2 separate regions of the Homo sapiens genome follow, and region 1 is linked to region 2. Evidence: promoter capture Hi-C in human tissues and cell types (Jung and others, 2019). All regions are on one chromosome and are shown on one strand. The core of a region is centred on a gene start or on the middle of the fragment in contact, and the rest is flanking DNA. Distances in the headings are between cores, read along the strand shown. Region 1 overlaps MNAT1 (MNAT1 component of CDK activating kinase). Region 2 holds the start of SIX4 (SIX homeobox 4).

What was found. The method cuts DNA at HindIII sites, captures the fragments that hold promoters and counts their contacts. A contact is called where the count stands out against the background at its distance.
Region 1: a fragment that was not itself captured here is called in contact with the fragment with the promoter of SIX4 in region 2 in 1 of the 25 tissues and cell types used here (dorsolateral prefrontal cortex).

Annotation. Positions count from the first base shown.
Region 1 is chr14:60,882,246-60,887,188 of GRCh38, forward strand. All of the region lies in intron 7 of MNAT1 (MNAT1 component of CDK activating kinase), which reads left to right. Among named protein-coding and RNA genes, the nearest start is that of TRMT5, 96 kb to the right of the region's middle. The HindIII fragment of the contact is 5,206 bases long and covers 1-4,369 here.
Region 2 is chr14:60,722,654-60,727,367 of GRCh38, forward strand. SIX4 (SIX homeobox 4) reads right to left here and starts at 1,698. Exons shown (of 3, transcript NM_017420.5): 1 at 559-1,698. The coding sequence starts at 1,421. RefSeq lists a silencer at 1,111-1,180. The HindIII fragment of the contact is 7,845 bases long and covers 1-3,040 here.

The sequences.
Region 1 (4,943 bases), core at 517-3,016, 160 kb after region 2:
ACTACCCTTCACAACCTCTGGTGACCTTCCTTCTACTCCCTATCAGTTCAATTTTTAGCTTCCACAAATAAGTGGGAACATGCTAAGTTTGTCTTTCTGTGCCTGGCTTATTTCACTTAACATAATGACCACCAGTTCCATGTATGTTGTTTCAAATGACAGGATCGCATACCTTTTTTATGGCTGAATAATACTCCACTGTGTATATGTACCACATTTTCTTTATTCAGTCATCTGTTGATGGACATGTAGATTGCTTCCAAATCTTGGCTATTGTGAACAGTCCTGTAACAAACATGGGAGTGCAGATGTCATTTTGAAATACTAATTCCCTTTCTTTTGGGTATATACCCAGCAGTGGGATTGCTGGATCATATAGTAGCTCTATTTTTGTTTTTTGACAAACCTCGAAACTGTTCTCCATACTGGTTGTACTAATTTACATATCCACCAACAGTGTACAAGATTTTCTTTTTTCCACATCCTCTCCAGTACTCGTTACTGCTTGTCTTTGGATAAAAGCCATTTAAACTGGGATGAGATTCTATCTCATTGTAGTTTTGATTTGCATTTCTCTGATGATTACTGGTGATGTTGAGCATTTTTACATATGACTGTTTGCCATTTGTATATCTTCCTTTGAGAAATGTATGTTCAAATCTTTTGCCCATTTTTAAGTTGGATTATTACATTTTTTCCTGTTGAGTTGTTTGAGTTCCTTACATATTCTGGTTAATAATGCCTTGTCAGATGGGTAGTTTGAAAATATTTTCTCCCATTCTATAGGTTGTCTCTTTGTTCATCGATTTCTTCGCTTTGCAGAAGCTTTTTAACTTGATGTGGTCCTACTTACCTATTTTTGCTTTAGTTGCCTGTGCTTGTGGGGGTGTTCCTCAAAAATCTTTGCCCACTCCAATATCCTGGAGCGTTTCCCCAATGTTTAATTTTAGTAGGTTAAATAGTTTGAGGTCTTAGATTTAAGTGTTTCATCCTGATTTGATTTTTGTATGTGGTGAGAGTTAGGGGTCTAGTTTCATTCTTATGCATATGGATATCCAGTTTTCCCAGTACCATATTTTGAAGAGATTTTCTTTTCCCAAATGTATGGTCTTGGCACTTTTGTCAAAAATGAGTTCACTGTAGATGCATGGATTTGTTTTGAGATTCTCTATTTTGTTCCATTGGTCTCTGTGTCCATTTTTATGCCAGTACCATGCTATTTTAGTTACTATAGCTCTGTAGTATTTGAAGTCAGGTAATATAATTCCTGAAGTTTTATATCTTTAAAGTTTCTTTAAAGATAGCTTTGGCTATTCTGGGTCTTTTGTGATTCCATATAAATTTTAGGAATTTTTTAATTTCTGTGAAGAATGTCATTGGTATTTTGATAGAGATTGCATTTAATCTGTAGATTGCTTTGGGTACTATGGCCATTTTAACATTATTGATTCTTCCAATCCATGAACATGGAATATCTTTTGTGTGTGTGTGTCCTCTTCAATTTTTTGCGTCAGTATTTTATAGTTTTCATAGTAGAGATCTTTCACTTATTTGGTTAATTCCTAGGTATTTTATTCTAGCTATTGTAAATGGGATTACTTTCTTGATTTCTTTTTTAGATTGTTCACTCTTGGCATATAGAAATGCTGCTGATTTTTGTGTGCTGATTTTGTATTCTGCAACTTTACTCAATTTGTTTATCAGTTCTAATAGTTTTTTTGTGAAGTCTTTAGGTTTTTCCAAATATAAGATCATATCATCTGTAAACAAAAATAATTTGACTTACTCCTTTCTGCTTTGGATGTCCTTTATTTCTTTCTCCTGTCTGATTGCTCTAGCTAGGACTGCCAGTTCTGTGTTGAATAGCAGTGGTGATAGTGGGCATTCTTGCTGTATTCCAGATCTTAGAAGAAAGACTTTCAGTTTTCCCCCATTCAGTATACTAGCTGCAGGTCTGTTATATATGGCTTTCATTATGTTGAGGTAAATTCCTTTTATACCCAGGTTTTTGAGGGTTTTTACCATGAAAGAATGTTGAATTTTATTAAATGCTTACTCAGCATCAGTTGAAGTGATCATATGGTTTGGTCCTCACTCTGTTGATATGATATATCATATTGATTGATTTGCATATGTTGAACCATCCTTGTATTCCTGGGATAAATCACATGTGGTCATGATGAGTGAATGATCTTTTTAACATGTTGTTGAATTCAGCTTGCTAGTATTTTGTTGAGGCTTGCAAACACTATCTTATAACCCATTATTTTAAGCTGATGACAACTTAAGGTTGATAGCATAAACAAACAAACAAACAAATAAGCAAAATCAAAACTAGTAAAAACTCTACACTTTAACTTTGTCCCCTTGCTTTTTAACTTTTTGTTGTTCTATTTATATCTTATTGTACTACGTCTTGAAAAGTTGTAGTTATTATGTTTAATTGATTTATCTTTTAGTTTTCCTACTTAAGAGTAGTTTATCTACCATGATTACAGTGTGGGAATATTCTGTGTTTTTCTGTGTACTTACCATTACCAGTGAATTTTGTACCTTCAGGTGACTTCATATTGCTCATTAATGTTCTTTTCTTTCTAATTGAAGAACCCCCTTTAGCATTTCTTGTAAGACAGGTCTGGTGTTGATAAAAACCTTCAGCTTTTGTTTGTCCGGGAAAGTCTTTATTTGTTTCTCCTTCATGTTTGCAGAACATTTTCACCGGATATACTATTCTAGGGCAAAAGCTTTTTCCTTCATGCCAGTCTCTTCTGGCCTATAAGGTTTCCACTGAAGAGTTCGCTGCCAGACATATTGGACCTCCATTCTATGTTATTTGTATATTTTGTCTTTCTGCTTGTAGAATTCTTTATCCTTGACCTTTGGGAGTTTGAGTGTTAAATGCTTTGAGGTATTCTTTTTTGAGTTGAATCTGCTTGGTGTTCTGTAACCTTCTTGTACTTGAATAGTTGAATATTGATATATTTCTCTAGATTTGGGAAATGTTCTGTTATTCTCCTTATGAATAAACGTTCTACCCTCATCTCTCTCTCTGTCTCCTATTTAGGCCCCATAACTCTTAGATTTGCACTTTTGAGGCTATTTTCTAGATCTTTTAGGCATGCTTCATTGTTTTTTATTGTTAATTTTGTTTTGTTTTCTTTGACTGTATTTTCAAATAGCTTATATTCAAGTTCACTCTTCTGCTTAATCAATTCTGCTATTAAGAGACTCTGGTTTTTGTTTGTATTTTCTTGATGATTAGTGATGTTGAGCAGCTTTTCATACACCTTTTGGCCATTCATATGTTATCTTTGGGGAAATGACTATTCAGGTCCTTTGCCCATTTTTAAGTTGAGTTATTTGGTTTTGTTTGCCTTTGAGCTATTCAAGTTCTTTATATAATTTGGGTATTAACCCTTTATTGGATGTATAGTTTGTATAGTTTGCAAATATATTTTCCCAATGTGTAGGTTGGTTTTTCATTTTGTTGTTTATTTCCTTTGTTGTCTAGAGCTTTTTAGTTTGATGTAGCTCTATTTGTTTATTTTCAGTTTTGTTGCGTATTTGGTGTCTTATCCAGAAAACCATTGCCAAAGTTAACATCAAGGATCTTTCTCACTATGTTTTCTCTTAAGAATTTTATGGTTTCAGGTTTTATTTTTAAGTCTTTAGTCCATTTTGAGTTGATGTTTTTTAATATGGTGTATGATAAGGGCCAGTTTCATTCACTTGTATGTGTATAGTTCTCTCAGTGCCATTGACTAAAAATATTAGCCTTTTTCCATTGTATGTTTTCATGCCCTTATCAAAAATTAGTTGACTGCAGATGTTTGGGTTTATTTCTGGGCTCCCTATTCTGTTCCAATGTGTATATGTTTGTTTTTGTGTCAATACCATACTATAGCTTTGTAATATTATCTGATATCAGCAAATTTGGTGTTTCCAACTTTGTTCTTCCTTTTCAAGGCTGTTTTGTTTTTTGTGGGTATTTTGTGGTTTCATGTGAACTTTATAATTTTTTTCTGTTTGTATTGAAAATGCCATGAGAATGTTGATAGGGATTTTGTTGAATCTGTATACTGCTTTTGGTAGTATGGACATTTTAACAATATTCCTCTATTCTTACGGACATGGGATTTGTTGCCGTTTATTTATGTTGTCTTCAGTGTTTCATATTTTTCAGTGTGTACAGCTTTGACCTCCTTTGTTAAATTTGTTCTTAAGTATCTTAATCTTTTTGATTAATCTTTTGATTAGCCTTTGAAAAAGGCTAATGTAATGTTTTGATTACATTACATTAAAGGCTAATGTAATGTTTTGATTTTTTTCAGATATATCAATATTAGTATAAAGAAATATAGCTGATTTTTGCATGTCTGTTTTGATTACAAAAAAGCTAATGTAATGTTTTGATTTTTTTTTCAGATACTTCACTATTAGTATAAAGAAATATAGCTGATTTTTGCATGTCTGTTTTCTATCTTGCTACTTTATTGAATTCATTTTCTAATTCTAACTTTTTGGTCTAATCTTTATGATTTTGTACATATAGGATCATGTCATATGCAGAGAGGCATAATTTTACTTCTTGATTTCCTATTTGGATGTATTTTATTTTTCTTGTCTAATTGCTCTTTATAATACTTCCAATTCTATGTTGAATGTAATTGATGAAAGTGGACGTCCTTGTCTTGGGGTCAGGCAAAAACTGAAAACTTTTCCTCTGTTGATTATAATGTTAGGCATAGGCCTTTCATAAATGACCTCAATTTTGTTCAGGACATTTTATTCTAAACTTATTTTGTTGACAGTTGTTATGAAAAGATTTTGAACTTTGTCAAATGCTTTCCCTGCATATATATTGAGATGATCATGTGGTTTTTATTTTTCATTCTATTGATGAGTTGTATAACATTGATTTGCATTTTTTTTGTTGTTGTTGT
Region 2 (4,714 bases), core at 448-2,947:
CAACACTCTCTTCCCTTCACCAGAGCAGCCACCGCGACCTCCAGCGCAGGCCCGGGGGGCGGCTGAACCCTGGGGATCCGGGAGCGTGCGCGCGCGCCAGGCCCGGTGTGACCTCGCGGAGGTGCAGACCCCGGCCGGCGCCGGCAGTCTCTGCGGGCCTCGGGCGGCAGGGAGAGCTACGGTGCCGGTGTCCACATTTGCTTCGTTAGCCCCTCCAGAAACGGGGAGAGGGTGGCAACTTCAAAGCCAGCGGGATGGGGGTGGGAAGCTGGGCAGCAGTGACCAGCCGAGGTGGGGGCGGGGACTGAGACCTAGGCGGGCGACCAGAAACTTCTGGGGGGAGAGGGGGAGGGTAAGGAGGGAGGTTCCCCCGCCCCCCGCCTCCGCCGCCCCCTACCTCTGCCGGCCGGGGAGCGAGGTAGGGGGCGGGGAGAGGTGGGCAGCCGGACCAGGCTGGTGGGGAAGGTAAGCGCCATGTTTGCGAGCACTTGGAGGAAAAGAAAGCCGGGAAGGGGGTGGGGGAGAGGAAGGGGGAGGAGGAGGAAAGTTGGCGCTCACCTTTTGGACTGGGTCTCGGAGGGGTTCCTGTCGCGCTGCCGGCGGTTCTTGAACCAGTTGCTGACCTGGGTGAGGGAGAGGCCGGTGATCTTGGCCAGGTGCCGCTTCTCGGCGGGCGAAGGGTAGCGATTCTGCTTGTAGAGCTCCTTGAGCGCGTTGCGCGACTTCTCCTTGAAACAATACACCGTCTCCTCGCCGTCCCAGATGGTGCGGGGCAGGGGGAATTTCCTGCGCAGCCGGTACTTGTCTACGGCTCCCAGCGGCCGGCCGCGGGCTCGCTCGGCCTCGGTGTAGCGCGCCTTGTACCAGAGCTGCTGCAGCAGCGGGTGGTTGGCCGACTCGAAGCTGTGGCTCTCGAGGATGCTGTAGAGCTCGGGGTAGATGCCCTGGTGGAAGGCCACGAGCGCCCGCGCCTTCAGCAGGCTCTCGTTGCCACGTAGCAGGTCGCTCTGGGGCAGGGACCACAGGAACCGGGCCAGGCGGTCCAGGTTGCCCCCCTGCTGCAGTGCCTCGCACACGCAGGCGACGTGGTCGGGCGAGAAGGCCAGCGGGGTCTGCGCGGCGGCGGCGGCGGCGTGGTGGTGCCTGCCCAGAAGTTCCGAGTGGAGTTGTACCTGATCCGCCGCCGCTCCGGCCGCCGCCGCCGCCACTGCCCCTTCCTCTCCGCTCACCCTGGCGGCAGCGGTCGCGGCGTCCCCCGGCTCCAGGGGAAAAGGGGCTGGAGCCGGGGGGCTCAGCCCTACCGCCGCGCCCCCCGCCACTTCTCGGTGCGCCTCCTGCCCTTCCGAGGCGCTTTCCATCCCATTCTCTTGCTTGATGTCCGCCGCACTTGCGATCTGCCCGGTGGGGGAGGAAGAGGACATTTTTTGTTGTTTATTTTCCTCCCTCCCTCACTCCCTCGCACTCTTTTCCTCTTTCTTTCCTCCTCTCTTACTCCTCCTCCTTCGTCTCCCTCCCTCCTCTCCCCCTCCGGAAAGCCCACTCCCTCCCTCCTGGTTTCGGCTGTATCTGGCCGATCAGGTTTCCCCCCGGCCACGCAGTCACCATTAAGATAGCTGTTAGAGCAAAGTAGTGTAAACGGATAGCTGCTTTCTGCCGTTCCCCCAACGTGACTCCTCCGGTTGCTGCATACTATATGGCAGTGGCGGCCGGGCCGGCCCGGCCTAGCCACCTCATTGGCTATTTCGCATTCAGAGGGAGGAGGAGACACAGTTTCTATCCCTGTCGATCACCCGCCTCCCACTCCACCCCTCGCCTTTCCCTCCCCTCCTGACCCCCAGGCACCTATACCTGAAGGAAAACACCGACATTCTTTCCAAGCCACGCTCCTGGGCGGGAAATTACCTAATGTGGCCTGAAAACTGGACAACTCTTTCAAACAGAGGCCCTACAATTCCAGAGGGAATATTAATTGTGTGGCCTTAAGGTCTGGATGGTTAAATTTTTAACAAAGAGACCACCCTCAGCATCTAGATGACAAAACTTCAGAGGACAATTCAGAAGCCCCCCAGTATGTCCCTGTTCCCCATTCTCCCTCTTTTTGGATGTCTTTATCAAGGATTTTGTATTCAAAACGGTCAAAAATAAAATGACACTAGGAAATGTTCTAAGGGGCAAGCATTTACAGTAAATTAAAATTCCAAAGAGGGAAAAATGCTTGAAAACCTTATAATTAGCAGCATAAATAGCACACTGAGAAGACAAAAACAAGAAGCCTTCAAAAAATGTACTTAACCTTAAGCCACGTGGAGGGCTGGCAACCCAACTGAGTTGAACATGGTATAATTAAACATGTAGAATATTAAACCATAAGTTTATCCTGGATGAGTCGTGTGGAAGAGATCTAAGCTTTAAATATGGAAATTTAAGTTTTCTACATGAACTTTTTAATGTAAGTATATGAGTATTTCTTTTTTAACGATGATAGGCTAGAAACACTGAATGTGCGGGTGTCATCCAGATCAGTGCAGGATCAGAAGCCCTTTTCCACAGCATAGACAGATTGCCCTCTGGTTTGATGCTGAAGTGGGGGTAGAGTCTTTTGTTGTTTGCAGTTGTGTCTCTTTCCTTTGTAATTTGCACAAGATCTTAATTCCAAAAGGGATGATCCATTTCTGCTTCTTTGATTACTGTAGGTCAGTTGGGTTTGCCTGCTGCTGCTCTTTCTCAAAATTCAACTTTTTTTCCCCCCGAGATGGAGTCTCGCTCTGTCGCCCAGGCTGGAGTGCAGTGGTGTGATCTCGGCTCACTGCAAGCTCCGCCTCCTGGGTTCACGCCATTCTCCTGCCTCAGCCTCCCGAGTAGCTGGGACTACAGGCGCCCGCCACCACGCCCAGCTAATTTTTTTTTTTTTTTTTTTTTTGTATTTTTTAGTAGAGACGGGGTTTCACCACGTTAGCCAGGATGGTCTCGATCTCCTGACCTCGTGATCCGTCCGCCTCGGCCTCTCAAAATTCAACATTTTAATGACATCATCCTAACCTTTGCTTCAGGGTGGCCTTGTATTGTGTATGCTTCCCAGCTACTCATAGCTGCCTACTTCAGCATATTACAAAGCAGCTGTCTAGGTCACCTGCCGTCATGATAAACTTGGTGAGATTTTCTTTTTTTTTGTAGACAGGCTTTATTTTATTGCTGGTCAATCAAGATGTCATTTGATGTAGGATTTAACTTGTTTTTGCATTACCCTAATGTGTTGACATCGCTGGTAGATTTAAAATTTATAACAACAGAAAAGGCCATATTATTTATTTGCTTATTTATTTATTTATTTATTTATTTATTTTTTGAGATGGAGTCTCACTCTGTTGCCCGGGCTGGAGTGCAGTGGCGTGATCTTGGCTCACTGCAACCTCTGCCTCCCGGGTTCAAGCGATTCTCCTGCCTCAGTCTCCTGAGTAGCTGGCACTACAGGCGCGTGCCACCATGCCCGACTAATTTTTTATATTTTTAGTAGAGATGGGGTTTCATCGTGTTAGCCAGGATGGTCTCGATCTCCTGACCTCGTGATCCGCCCGCCTCGATCTCCCAAAGTGCTGGGATTACAGGCGTGAGCCACCGCGCCCGGCCAAGACCATGTGTTTCTACTCCACTGGAAACATCCAGTTAGGTACCAAGCTTCAGGACAATAACTGAGATTCAGAACTTCCTTGAATTTTTGTTTGCTTGTTTGTTTTTGTTTGAGACAGGGTCTCTCTCTGATGCCCAGGCTGAAGTGCAGTGGCATGATCTCAGCTCACTGCAACCTGCCCCTCCTGGTTTCAAGTGATTCTCCTGCATCAGCCTCCCGAGTAGCTGGGATTACAGGCACCTGCCAACCACACCCAGCTAATTTTTGTATTTTTAGTAGAGATGGGGTTTCACCATGTTGGCCAGGCTGGTCTTAAATTCCTGACCTCAAGTGATCCGCCCACCTCAGTCTCCCAGAGTGCTGGGATTAGAGGCATGAGCCACCACACCTGGCCAAATTTTTTTAAAAATATATTTTTTATTTGGAATGCTTTTCATTTACAGAAAAGTTACCAAAATAGTAGAGTTTCCACTTACCTTTCACCTAGTTCCCTTTAATTTTAACATCTTACATGATAATGCTATATTTATCTAAACAAATTAACATTGGCGCATTTCTATTAACTAACCTCTAGACTTTATTTGGATTTCACCAGTTTTTTTTTTCATTAATGTCTGTTTTCTGTCCTATGATCCAATCCAGGAGACCATGTTGCATTTAATTCCTTGAAATTTTAAAGCACATTTCTCAGAACAAAGTAGACAGGATATGGTGTGGTTTAGTGGAAAGGATGTGGATTTGAGGATCAGATAGCTAGACACAGGTTTAATCCTAGCTCTTCCATTTATTAGCTACTTGACTATAAAAAGTCGACTAAGTTGTTGTGAGGATTAAATGAGATAAGATGTGCCAGAAAGCACCTGGTGAGTAATTAATCCTTGGTAAATGTTTGTTATCTTCTTCCTGATATTGCAAAGTAGGAGACTTTTTAGTTGTATATACCTAGTGAAAATTCCTTTGGCTATGTTTGGAGCCATCCCAAACCAGGTCACAGGAGTCTGCTTCAGAATTATTATCAATCAAATATAGTGCATTGACTTGGAAAACCACTTCTGCATGTCTTCTGTATATTTGCCTCTAGAGCAT